Linked DNA regions of Homo sapiens: regions 1 and 2 are each linked to region 3. The links are contacts of gene promoters, found by promoter capture Hi-C in blood cells and fetal thymus (Javierre and others, 2016). All regions are on one chromosome and are shown on one strand. The core of a region is centred on a gene start or on the middle of the fragment in contact, and the rest is flanking DNA. Distances in the headings are between cores, read along the strand shown. Region 1 overlaps DNTTIP1 (deoxynucleotidyltransferase terminal interacting protein 1). Region 2 overlaps UBE2C (ubiquitin conjugating enzyme E2 C). Region 3 holds the start of NEURL2 (neuralized E3 ubiquitin protein ligase 2).

Region 1 (3,283 bases), core at 137-2,636, 92 kb after region 3:
TGCTGTTTTTCTTTTTTCTTTTTTTTTTTGACATGGAATCTTGCTCTGTTGCCCAGACTGGAGTACAGTGGTGCGATCTCGGCTGTCTGCAATCTCCGCCTCCCAGGTTCAAGCAATTCTCCTGCCTCTGCCTCCTGAGTAGCTGGGATTACAGGCGTGCAACCACACCCAGCTAATTTTTTTTTTTTTTTTTTTTGGTATTTTTAGTAGAGATGGGGTTTTATCACGTTGGCTAGGCTAGTCTCACACTTCTGACCTCGTGATCTGCCCGCCTCAGCCTCCCAAAGTGTTGGGATTACAGGCGTGAGCCAGTGCGCCTGGCCTGCTGTTTTTCTTTTAATAAATACTGAGTACCTGGGACCTAAGTGCTGTGGACACAGCAGTAACTAGGACAAGCTCTTGTGGAGCTTATAGTTTGTGGGTGATCTGGATAATAAGCACAGAAACAAACAAGGTAACTGTGGATCATGATAGATGCTGTGAGAAAAAAAGAAAAAAACCCAGGCAGATGTGACAGAGAACCACCAGAGGGGAAGGGCTACTTTGCGGGAATGGCCAGGGAAGGCCTTGCTCAGAAGGTGGCCTCTGAGTTGAGATGTGAAGGAGGCTGTAAAAAAAGCTGGGCAGAAGTGTTTCAGCAGCAGGGAGGAGTGCAGAAGCTCAAAGGTGGGAACACCTGGCTCATTTGACAAAGAAAAGGATGGAATGGGCAGAGGGGAGATGGTGCAGCAGGTGGAGAATTGGGTTCACCCGACCTCTGCCAGTGGCATTTGACAGTGCTGAGGGCTCCCCCTTCTGGAAACACTCTTTTCTACAGGCTCCTGTGGCCACACTTCCTGTGTTCCTTCTACTTCTCTGGCCGTTCTTTCTTAGCCTTCTTTGCTGGCTTTTCCTTCTCAATCTGGTTCTTTTCCCTATCCTCTCTCATTACATATTCTATCTGCTCTCACCTATTCTCACAGCTTCAATTAACATCTATAAACCACGATTCCATAATTCAACTGTAGACAAAAGGTTATCCTCTGAGCTCTAGACTTATATACCAAATAGTCTGCCCCATGTCTATGCTTGGATGGCTCAAAGCTGCTAATCCATAATTGGATTCATGCTCTTCTCCTCCAAACTTTGTCCCTTTCCAGTGAAGGGTGATCAAGTCTCAATGTGTAATTATGCACACATTTGTTGGTAATCTAATTCACACCTGTCTGCTTAAGTAGGCTGTTAAGTTCTATTAGAGCAGGAAGCTTGTTTGTTCATTTATCATTTGTTTGTTCCTTCATTTACTCAATAATTCAGCAAACTCTGTACACATACTAAGAGTCATATTCCAGGGCTGGGAATACAGTGGTGAACAAGATTAGGCCTCAACTCTTGTAAAGCTCAAGATTTTAGCAGAGGTAGGAGTGCGAGGGGAAGACCTCTCTGATATTTAAACTAAGATCTGAAGAAAAGAAGGAGCCGGCTTTATAGAGTTAAGGGTAGAGTACCCCAGGTACTAAGAACAGCAAGTGAAATGGCCTAAGCTTGTGCTGGAGGAGCAGAAAGGAGTTCAGAACAGCCAGAGTATAGTCAATAAAAAAGAGGTGAGATGAAATGAAGTTAAAGAAGCAGGCAGAAGCCAGTCGAGGGTAGGCTCTGTGGGTCATGGTAAGGCATTTTTTTTTAAATTATACTTTAAGTTTTAGGGTACATGTGCACAACATGCAGGTTTGTTACATATGTATACATGTGCCTTGTTGGTGTGCTGCACCCAGTAACTCGTCATTTAACATTAGGTATATCTCCTAATGCTATCCCTCCCCCCTCCCCCAACCCCACGACAGGCCCCGGTGTCTGATGTTCCCTTTCCTGTGTCCATGTGTTCTCATTGTTCAATTCCCACCCATGAGTGAGAACATGCGGTGTTTGGTTTTTTGTCCTTGTGATAGTTTGCTGAGAATGATGGTTTCCAGCTTCATCCATGTCCCTAAAAAGGACATGAACTCATCACTTTTTATGGCTGCATAGTATTCCATGGTATATATGTGCCACATTTTCTTAATCCAGTCTATCATTGTTGGACATTTGGGTTGGTTCCAAGTCTTTGCTATTGTGAATAGTGCCACAATAAACATATGTGTGCATGTGTCTTTATAGCAGCATGATTTATATTCCTTTGGGTATATACCCAGTAATGGGATGGCTGGGTCAAATGGTATTTCTAGTTCTAGATCCCTGAGGAATCGCCACACTGACTTCCACAATGGTTGAACTAGTTTACGGTCCCACCAACAGTGTAAAAGTGTTCCTATTTCTCCACATCCTCTCCAGCACCTGTTGTTTCCTGACTTTTTAATGATCACCATTCTAACTGGTGTAAGATGGTATCTCATTGTGGTTTTGATTTGCATTTCTCTGATGGCCAGTGATGATGAGCATTTTTTCATGTGTCTTTTGGCTGCATAAATGTCTTCTTTTGAGGAGTGTCTGTTCATGTCCTTTGGCCACTTGTTGATGGGGTTGCTTGTTTTTTTCTTGTAAATTTGTTAGAGTTCATTGTAGATTCTGGGTATTAGCCCTTTGTCAGATGAGTAGATTGCAAAAATTTTCTCCCATTCTGTAGGTTGCCTGTTCACTCTGATGGTCATTTCTTTTGCTGTGCAGAAGCTCTTTAGTTTAATTAGATCCCATTTGTCAATTTTGGCTTTTGTTGCCATTCCTTTTGGTGTTTTAGTCATGAAGTCCTTGCCCATGCCTATGTCCTGAATGGTATTGCCTAGGTTTTCTTCTAGGGTTTTTATGGTTTTAGGTCTAACATTTAAGTCTTTAATCCATCTTGAATTAATTTTTGTATAAGGTGTAAGGAAGGGATCCAGTTTCGGCTTTCTACATATGGCTAGCCAGTTTTCCCAGCAGGATCATGGTAAGGCATTAAGACTTTATTCTCCCTGCAACAGGAAAGTCACTGAAGGGTTTTTAAAATGGGGAGTGACATGATCTAATTCATCTTTACGGAGATCAGTCTGGCTGCTGTGAGAAGAGTGGATTGGAACTGGGTAACGGTGAATGTAACTCTGGACTGAGATATAAATGTGTGAATTATGAGCGGCTGAATTGGCTTCCAAGCCACAGGACTAGATGAAAACACCTATGAAAACAGTGAGCCATGAAAGAGAAGGGGTTTGAGGACTGAACTTGGGAAGGCACCAACAGTTAGAGGCGGGGGGTGAGAGAGAAGAGTAGGCAATGAGGTTGGAGCAAAGTCAAGGCACTCTAGCCAACAGAGGAGCATTCCAAGAAACGC
Region 2 (3,342 bases), core at 620-3,119, 75 kb after region 3:
ACTTGGAAACTATTTAGAAACCAAAATAAATAAACAGACTGGATCTTAGGCTCCACTTCACACCTACAGAAAAGAATTTAACAAGATCCCAAGTGTATTTGTATGAATGTTAGATTAAGAAAAAACCCAAGAGGAGAGACCTAAGAGCACAATTATAGACATGAAGGGACCCAACTTCCAATCCCAAACCCCTCCCGCTTCAGGCTTGCACAACCAACCAGCTGCTAACAGACCTGAAGGAGTTGGGTGCAAGGTTGGAGCACATCTGGATGCTGCTTATCTACCTTGGAGATCTTCCTGAAGGGCTTTGTGGGGGCCCTATCACTTCAACCTACTCTTCCACCTGCCGACCCTTGTGGGGACCCAGCTGGTCAGCAGGGGTGTTTCCTCCTAGGGGCTCAAAGACTGGAGCCTTCATCAGGCCAGGGGAAAGAGGCAGCCCAAGGGGCTGGGGGCTCCCTGGGGGATATGCAGCAGGAGGCGACTGTGCCCCCTTGGAGGTGGAGCTCCACCGGGGACCTGGGCTAGAGCCTGGAGACCAGAGCTCAGACCTGAGTCCTGCCAGGGAAGGGGCTTTTTTCCTGGCTGTCTCCCCAGGCCCTGGACCTGCTTAGGGTGACCTAAGCATTCTTCTTCAGGACAGAACATGGGTGGCTGTGTGTTGGGATCCCCCCCCCAACACACACGCTTGTTCCTTCTACAGCTATAGGAGTAGGTTTCAGCCTAAGGTCTGGCTCAGCCTCATCTGCAACACAGCTGAGGGAGCTCCAACATTCACTAACATTGCTGGTACACATCACCGACTCCATAGACAGGAGGCATTATTGTGACACTCATTTTATAGATGAAGAAACAGATGCAGAGTCATAAAATAAGGTACAAGGGAATAAATCTTTGTCACCCCATTGCTTGGCCCCACATCCTTAAGTTCCACCTCTGCCTACCCTGAGTACCTCCAACCCTAGTGAAATTACAACGCAACAACTTGTCTAAAAAAGGACAAAAATGCATTTATTTAATATACAAGGGCTCAACCGAGGCTTAATTTAAAAGACAAAAACAAAACAAAAATACCACAGCTCAAGATAAAGAGTCCTATACAGAAATCACAAAAAGGACAGACCATCTAAGGAAAAATTAAAAAGACGACACAAGGACAGGCTGGGCAGCCTGGGTCAGGGCTCCTGGCTGGTGACCTGCTTTGAGTAGGTTTCTTGCAGGTACTTCTTAAAAGCTGGAAGAGAACAGGCAGGTCTCAGTGAGTGATGGAGACAGGATGAGTTAATCTTTACTATTTATTATTTTTGAGATGGAGTCTCACTCTGTTGACCAAGCTGGAGTGCAATAGCATGATGTCTGCTCACTGCAACCTCTGCTTCCTAGATTCAAGTGATTCTCTTGCCTCAGCCTCCTGAGTAGCTGGGACTACAGGTGCCTACCACCATACCCGGTTAATTTTTTTTGTATTTAGTAGAGACGGGGTTTCACCATGTTGGCCAGGCTGGTCTCAAACTCCTGACCTCATGTGATCCACCCACCTCGGCCTCCCCAAGTGCTAGGATTACAGGCATGAGCCACTGTGCCTGGCCCAGGATGAATTAAGGTGGGCAAGAGGCAGCTGGACCAGGGATGCAAAGGTCGGAGGAGGTGGAGGAGGGGCTGGTTTCCCAGCCCGGCATTCTCCCTGCACTGCCCATCTAGGCAGCTCTCCTGGAAGGGCTTGCTTCCAGTGAGACTGGAGGGCACAGGCAAGGCACTCTACTGAATTCCTGGCCTCAAGCTATCCTCCTGCCTTGGTCTCACCAATAATTTCCCAAAATTATTTATCGCCAAACATTTTTATTCTGCTATAAAACAATTGCTATTTTATAGCAAATAGGAGCACTGGGGCAGAAACAGAAGTGGGTTGCTGCCGACACTCCACCCTGCCCCAACCAACCCGGTCCCAAGTCACTGGGCTCCTTTTGTTTGAGGGAGCCTTTGAAGGTTGGGGGAGGGATCACCCTGGGCTCAAGGACTGAGGACTCACCTGTGGGGTTTTTCCAGAGCTCGGCAGCATGTGTGTTCAAGGGACTATCAATGTTGGGTTCTGTGGGTGGAGAGAAAGAGAAGGTCAAGGCGGTAGAAGAGGCTGACCCCAGGGAGTCCTGACAGGTTCCCAAGTTGCATGGAGGGGAGGGGTGGTCTCTAAAGTCACCTCCTAGAAGGCTCTGGATGGAGAGCAGAATGGTCCTGACATCATACAGGGCAGACCACTTTTCCTTCAGGATGTCCAGGCATATGTTACCCTGGGTGTCCACGTTGGGGTGATAGCAGGGCGTGAGGAACTTCACTGTGGGCGCATTGTAAGGGTAGCCACTGGGGAACTCTAGCGAGAGCTTATACCTCAGGTCTTCATATACCTGGCATTTGGAGAAACAGTTGCAGAGTAAGCTCCAGCAGCAGCCTCATGTCCCAACCCAAGCCCCACACAAGGGGCTTGCTAGAATCTTGAGTTTCTCTGGGACCGGACAGTAGACAAACTGTTGAGCTGGTTCTGATGCTCCCCACTGCCTTTTTAAAAAGTTTTTTTAGTTTAGTTTTTATTTTAGAGACAGGGTTTCACCATGTTGCCCAGGCCAGTCTCAAACTCCTGGGCTCATGTGATCTGCCTGCCTCAGCCTCCCAAAGTGCTGAGATTACAGGTGTGAGCCACTATGCCTAGCCTGATGCTTTCCTCTTATCTGGTGGAGACATCAGTGACTCTTTGGTCTAAGGATTGTAAATTGGCATCCTGTGCTTTAGTTCAATTAGAATATTAGTTGCTGGCCGGGCGTGGTGGCTCACGCCTGTAATCCCAGCACTTTGGGAGGCCGAGGCGGGTGGATCTTGAGGTCAGGAGATCGAGACCATCCTGGCTAACAAGGTGAAACCCCGTCTCTACTAAAAATACAAAAAATTAGCCGGGCGTGGTGGCGGGCGCCTGTAGTCCCAGCTACTCGGAGGCTGAGGCAGGAGAATGGCGTGAACCCGGGAAGCGGAGCTTGCAGTGAGCCGAGATTGCGCCACTGCAGTCCGCAGTCTGGCCTGGGCGACAGAGCGAGACTCCGTCTCAAAAAAAAAAAAAAAAGAATATTAGTTGCTAATACGTAAAAATTAGATTTGGCACAGATTTGGACTTCTGACTCATCTTAAACCTGATCTGCAGCAATGGGAAGCTGCCTTCTTGAGATCTGGCCCTATTGGCCAAAGTCCTCACTTCATCCATTTCCTTGCTGTCTGTCCCCCCATGTAAACATCTAAGATAGGCAGCCCTGCTTTAAACCCACCCTTTATTGCACAGAGGGAAAGAACAAGGCCACA
Region 3 (3,373 bases), core at 1-2,500:
GTCATCGGAGTAGGAGAAGCCCACCCCAGCTGGGGACTCCAGGTATAACACATTGGCAATCTAGAGGGGAGGGAAAAATTAGCTAAATGCCACCCCATCCAAGTGCCCAGACACACCCACAGCTCCAGCTATACCAGATTCCAAGAATAGGGGTTGTACTCCAGGGTGACACCATCTGGCTGGACCTGAGGAGGAAAGAGATGGCTGAGTAAGTCCCAAGGGCCAGCTGGGTGGAGGGAAAGGGCCACCATGAGAGGCACTTTACATGTGGGTAAAACCTCTGAGAGGTACAGGCAGCAAAGCCAATGGCATAGAGGAAAATCCCGAGGCTTAGAAGGAAGGAAACTTTTTGGAAAATCACAAAGCCCCTCTCTCGCTTTCCCCAGCCTTTTACTTTGGGAACTGTGCTTTCCCCCTGCTGTCCACTCACCAGGAAGGGGCCATGCTCTGTGAGGAGCCCATCTAGTGAGCTGCAGCCGGGACCCCCATTGAGCCAAAGCACCACAGGGCTGTTCTCGGGATCCTTCTGGGACTCCACAAACCTGGGAGGGGGGTCAGGGCAGGGTTGGCGCAGTTGGAGGGGCCCTTTCCAGCCCTCCCGGCTCCCAGGCATCCTCAGGGGTCTGCAGAACTACCCCCCATCCCTCATCCGTCATCTCTTCTCCCAATCCCGCCCAGAAGGCAGGGCGGCAGACCAGTAGTGGAGGTGCTTGGAGCCGGAGCCTTTGAGGTAGCCGGAGTACTGGCGGAAAGACGGCTGCTTGGCCAGCCCGGGGAGGCGCTGGATCTCGTCCTGGTCGGGGGCTGCCTCGCCTCGGGACGCCCAGGACACTAGCAGCAGCAGCAGCAGCAGCAGCAGGAACAGCGGCGGCGGCGCGGCTCGGATCATCTACGGGAGGCAGCAGAGGGGCTGTTGACTCGCTCCTCAGCGCTTCCGTGCAGCAGCCCCCGGGGAGTTGCTGGCGGCGCCTCCGCGAGGGAAGCCCCGGCCCCAGCGCCAGCTCCCACCCGCGAGCCTCCTCTGCCGCGCACCGATCCCGGGCTCGGGGATCCCCTCCAGCCTCCGGTGCCAGCTCACCTCTGCTCCCCCGCGTCCTTGCTCTCCAGGAGGCGCCCGGGGACTGGAAGTCATGTGTACGAGTCACGTGAACTCCGGCGCCACGTGACAGTCTTCCTCCCGCCCCTTCTTTGGTCCCTACGGACCTGGGGGGCGGTGGCGGTCAATGCCGGGTCAAGGTCCGCGGGCCTCGCAGATCGTAGCCCGGGCGCACGCGATCAGATGATCCTGTTGTGGACGGCTAAGTTGTAGGCGGGATGGCTGAGAAAGCGGCGCTAGGACCCCCGGGCAGAGGCTCGGGGAAGGGAGTCAGGGGGGAAATGCCTTACAAGGTCGCCTTGCGGTCACCATCATTGCCCGCCGCCCAAAATAGCCCCCGGCGCCAGCTGGCCTGCCCTATGGCCGAGAGATGGCTGCTGCCTCCGAGCCCGTGGATTCGGGTGCACTCTGGGGACTCGAGCGCCCGGAGCCCCCTCCCACCCGCTTCCATCGGGTGCACGGTGCCAACATCCGCGTGGACCCCTCTGGGACGCGGGCCACACGCGTGGAGAGCTTCGCCCACGGCGTGTGCTTCAGCCGCGAGCCGCTGGCCCCGGGCCAGGTCTTCCTGGTCGAGATCGAGGAGAAAGAGCTGGGCTGGTGCGGACATCTGCGTCTCGGTCTGACCGCGCTGGACCCCGCCAGTCTGGCCCCCGTTCCCGAGTTTTCTCTGCCCGATCTGGTCAACCTGGGCCACACCTGGGTCTTCGCCATCACGCGCCACCACAACCGCGTGCCCCGGGAGGGCCGCCCGGAGGCGGAGGCAGCGGCCCCCAGCCGACCTCCAACCCTCCTCGTGGAACCATATCTGCGCATTGAGCAGTTTCGCATTCCCCGGGACCGCCTGGTGGGCCGCAGCCGGCCAGGGCTCTACAGCCATCTCTTGGACCAGCTCTATGAGCTGAACGTGCTGCCTCCGACCGCGCGCCGTAGCCGCCTGGGTGTCCTCTTTTGCCCGCGCCCCGATGGCACGGCCGACATGCACATCATCATCAACGGCGAGGACATGGGCCCGAGCGCCCGGGGACTGCCAGCTGCGCAGCCCCTCTACGCGGTGGTGGACGTGTTTGCTTCCACAAAGAGCGTGCGCCTTGTCCAGCTCGAGTATGGCTGTAGGTATCCCTGGGCAGCGACCCCTCCTGGCTCAGTGTGGGGACTGGAATCTACTAGGGCTCCGTAGCCCATGTGCTAGGCCTTCGTCTGTCCGGCACTAGTTTAAGAGTGGGAGAATCTAGCTTCAAATTGCACCTCTGCTTGTGATCTTGCACAAGCCTCTACATGGTTTTGGGCCTTGGTACCTATCTTGGTTGATTGATTAAGATGCCCTACAAGTTCCCTTTTAGTTTTGATAGTGTTTCCTGTATTCACCTAGGGCAGGGATTCTAAACCAATTTTAGATATTAGGGGCCTCTTTGAGAATTGTTTGCCCTTTTCTTAGAAACATGCTTGGCCGGGCACAGTGGCTCACACCTGTAATCCCAGCACTTTGGGAGGGGGAGGCAGGCAGATCACTTGAGGCCAGGAGTTCGAGACCAGCCTGGCCAACATGGTGAAAGCCTGTCTCTACTAAAAATACAAAAAGTAGCTGGGTGTGGTGGCATGTGCCAATAATCCCAGCTATTCAGAAGGCTGAGGCAGGAGAGTCACTTGAACCCGAGAGGTGGAGGTTGCAATGAGCCGAGATCTCACCAGTGCACTCCAGCCTAGGCAACAGAGCAAGACTCTGAAAAAAAAAAGAAAGAGAGAGAGAGAGGAAGAGAGAGAAAGCAAGCAAGCAAGCAAGCTAGCTAGCTCAAGCCTGGGCAACAAAGTGAGACCCCATCTGTACAAAAAATTAAATAATTATCTGGGCATGGTGGTGCATGCCTGTAGTCCCAGCTATTTGGGAGGCTAAGGCAGGAGGATCGCTTGAGCCCAAGAATTGAAGGCTGCAGTTCACTGAGCACTGCACTTCAGCCTGGGTGACAGAGCAAGACCCTCTCTCTTTAAATAAAAAAAAAAAAAGAAAGAAAAGAAAGAAACATGCTCATAGACTTGGGCATATTGGCTATTGGCTTCGAGGCATAACAAACCCCAGACTGAGAGCTTCTTAATGCTGAGTATGATTCATTATAGCCCTGGTAAGCATTGCAGTTATACCTCTCATCACATTTCATGAACTCAATGCACCAGAACCCTCTTTGTGCCAGGCCTGTGCTGGAGGCTTCAGTTGCACAGGCAAATCAGACACTACCCCTGCCCCCAGAAGCTGCTAAGTGAATGGGGAAGGGATTGTGC

The links. Contacts are between HindIII fragments. The CHiCAGO score rates a contact against its expected background, and 5 or more counts as called.
Region 1: a fragment that was not itself captured here is called in contact with the fragment with the promoter of NEURL2 in region 3 in 14 of 17 cell types (megakaryocytes, erythroblasts, naive CD4 T cells and 11 more); the score reaches 23.9 in megakaryocytes.
Region 2: a contact is called between a fragment that was not itself captured here and the fragment with the promoter of NEURL2 in region 3, in 2 of 17 cell types (erythroblasts and megakaryocytes). The highest score is 10.1, in erythroblasts.

Annotation. Positions count from the first base shown.
Region 1 is chr20:45,796,866-45,800,148 of GRCh38, reverse strand. The region is part of intron 4 of DNTTIP1 (deoxynucleotidyltransferase terminal interacting protein 1); the gene reads right to left. Among named protein-coding and RNA genes, the nearest start is that of DNTTIP1, 6.6 kb to the right of the region's middle. The HindIII fragment of the contact is 279 bases long and covers 1,247-1,525 here.
Region 2 is chr20:45,814,601-45,817,942 of GRCh38, reverse strand. UBE2C (ubiquitin conjugating enzyme E2 C) reads right to left here. Exons shown (of 6, transcript NM_007019.4): 4 at 2,198-2,402; 5 at 2,030-2,089; 6 at 991-1,234. The coding sequence ends at 1,176. Among named protein-coding and RNA genes, the nearest start is that of UBE2C, 3.6 kb to the right of the region's middle. The HindIII fragment of the contact is 4,695 bases long and covers 1-3,342 here.
Region 3 is chr20:45,889,085-45,892,457 of GRCh38, reverse strand. It overlaps NEURL2 (neuralized E3 ubiquitin protein ligase 2), which reads left to right and starts at 1,250. Exons shown (of 2, transcript NM_080749.4): 1 at 1,250-2,208. The coding sequence starts at 1,467. CTSA (cathepsin A) reads right to left here and starts at 1,123. Exons shown (of 15, transcript NM_000308.4): 1 at 1,079-1,123; 2 at 696-889; 3 at 431-542; 4 at 135-185; 5 at 1-60. The coding sequence starts at 889. It also overlaps a transcript of SPATA25 not described here. RefSeq lists enhancers at 787-836, 1,076-1,785 and a silencer at 877-1,146. The HindIII fragment of the contact is 4,274 bases long and covers 1-3,373 here.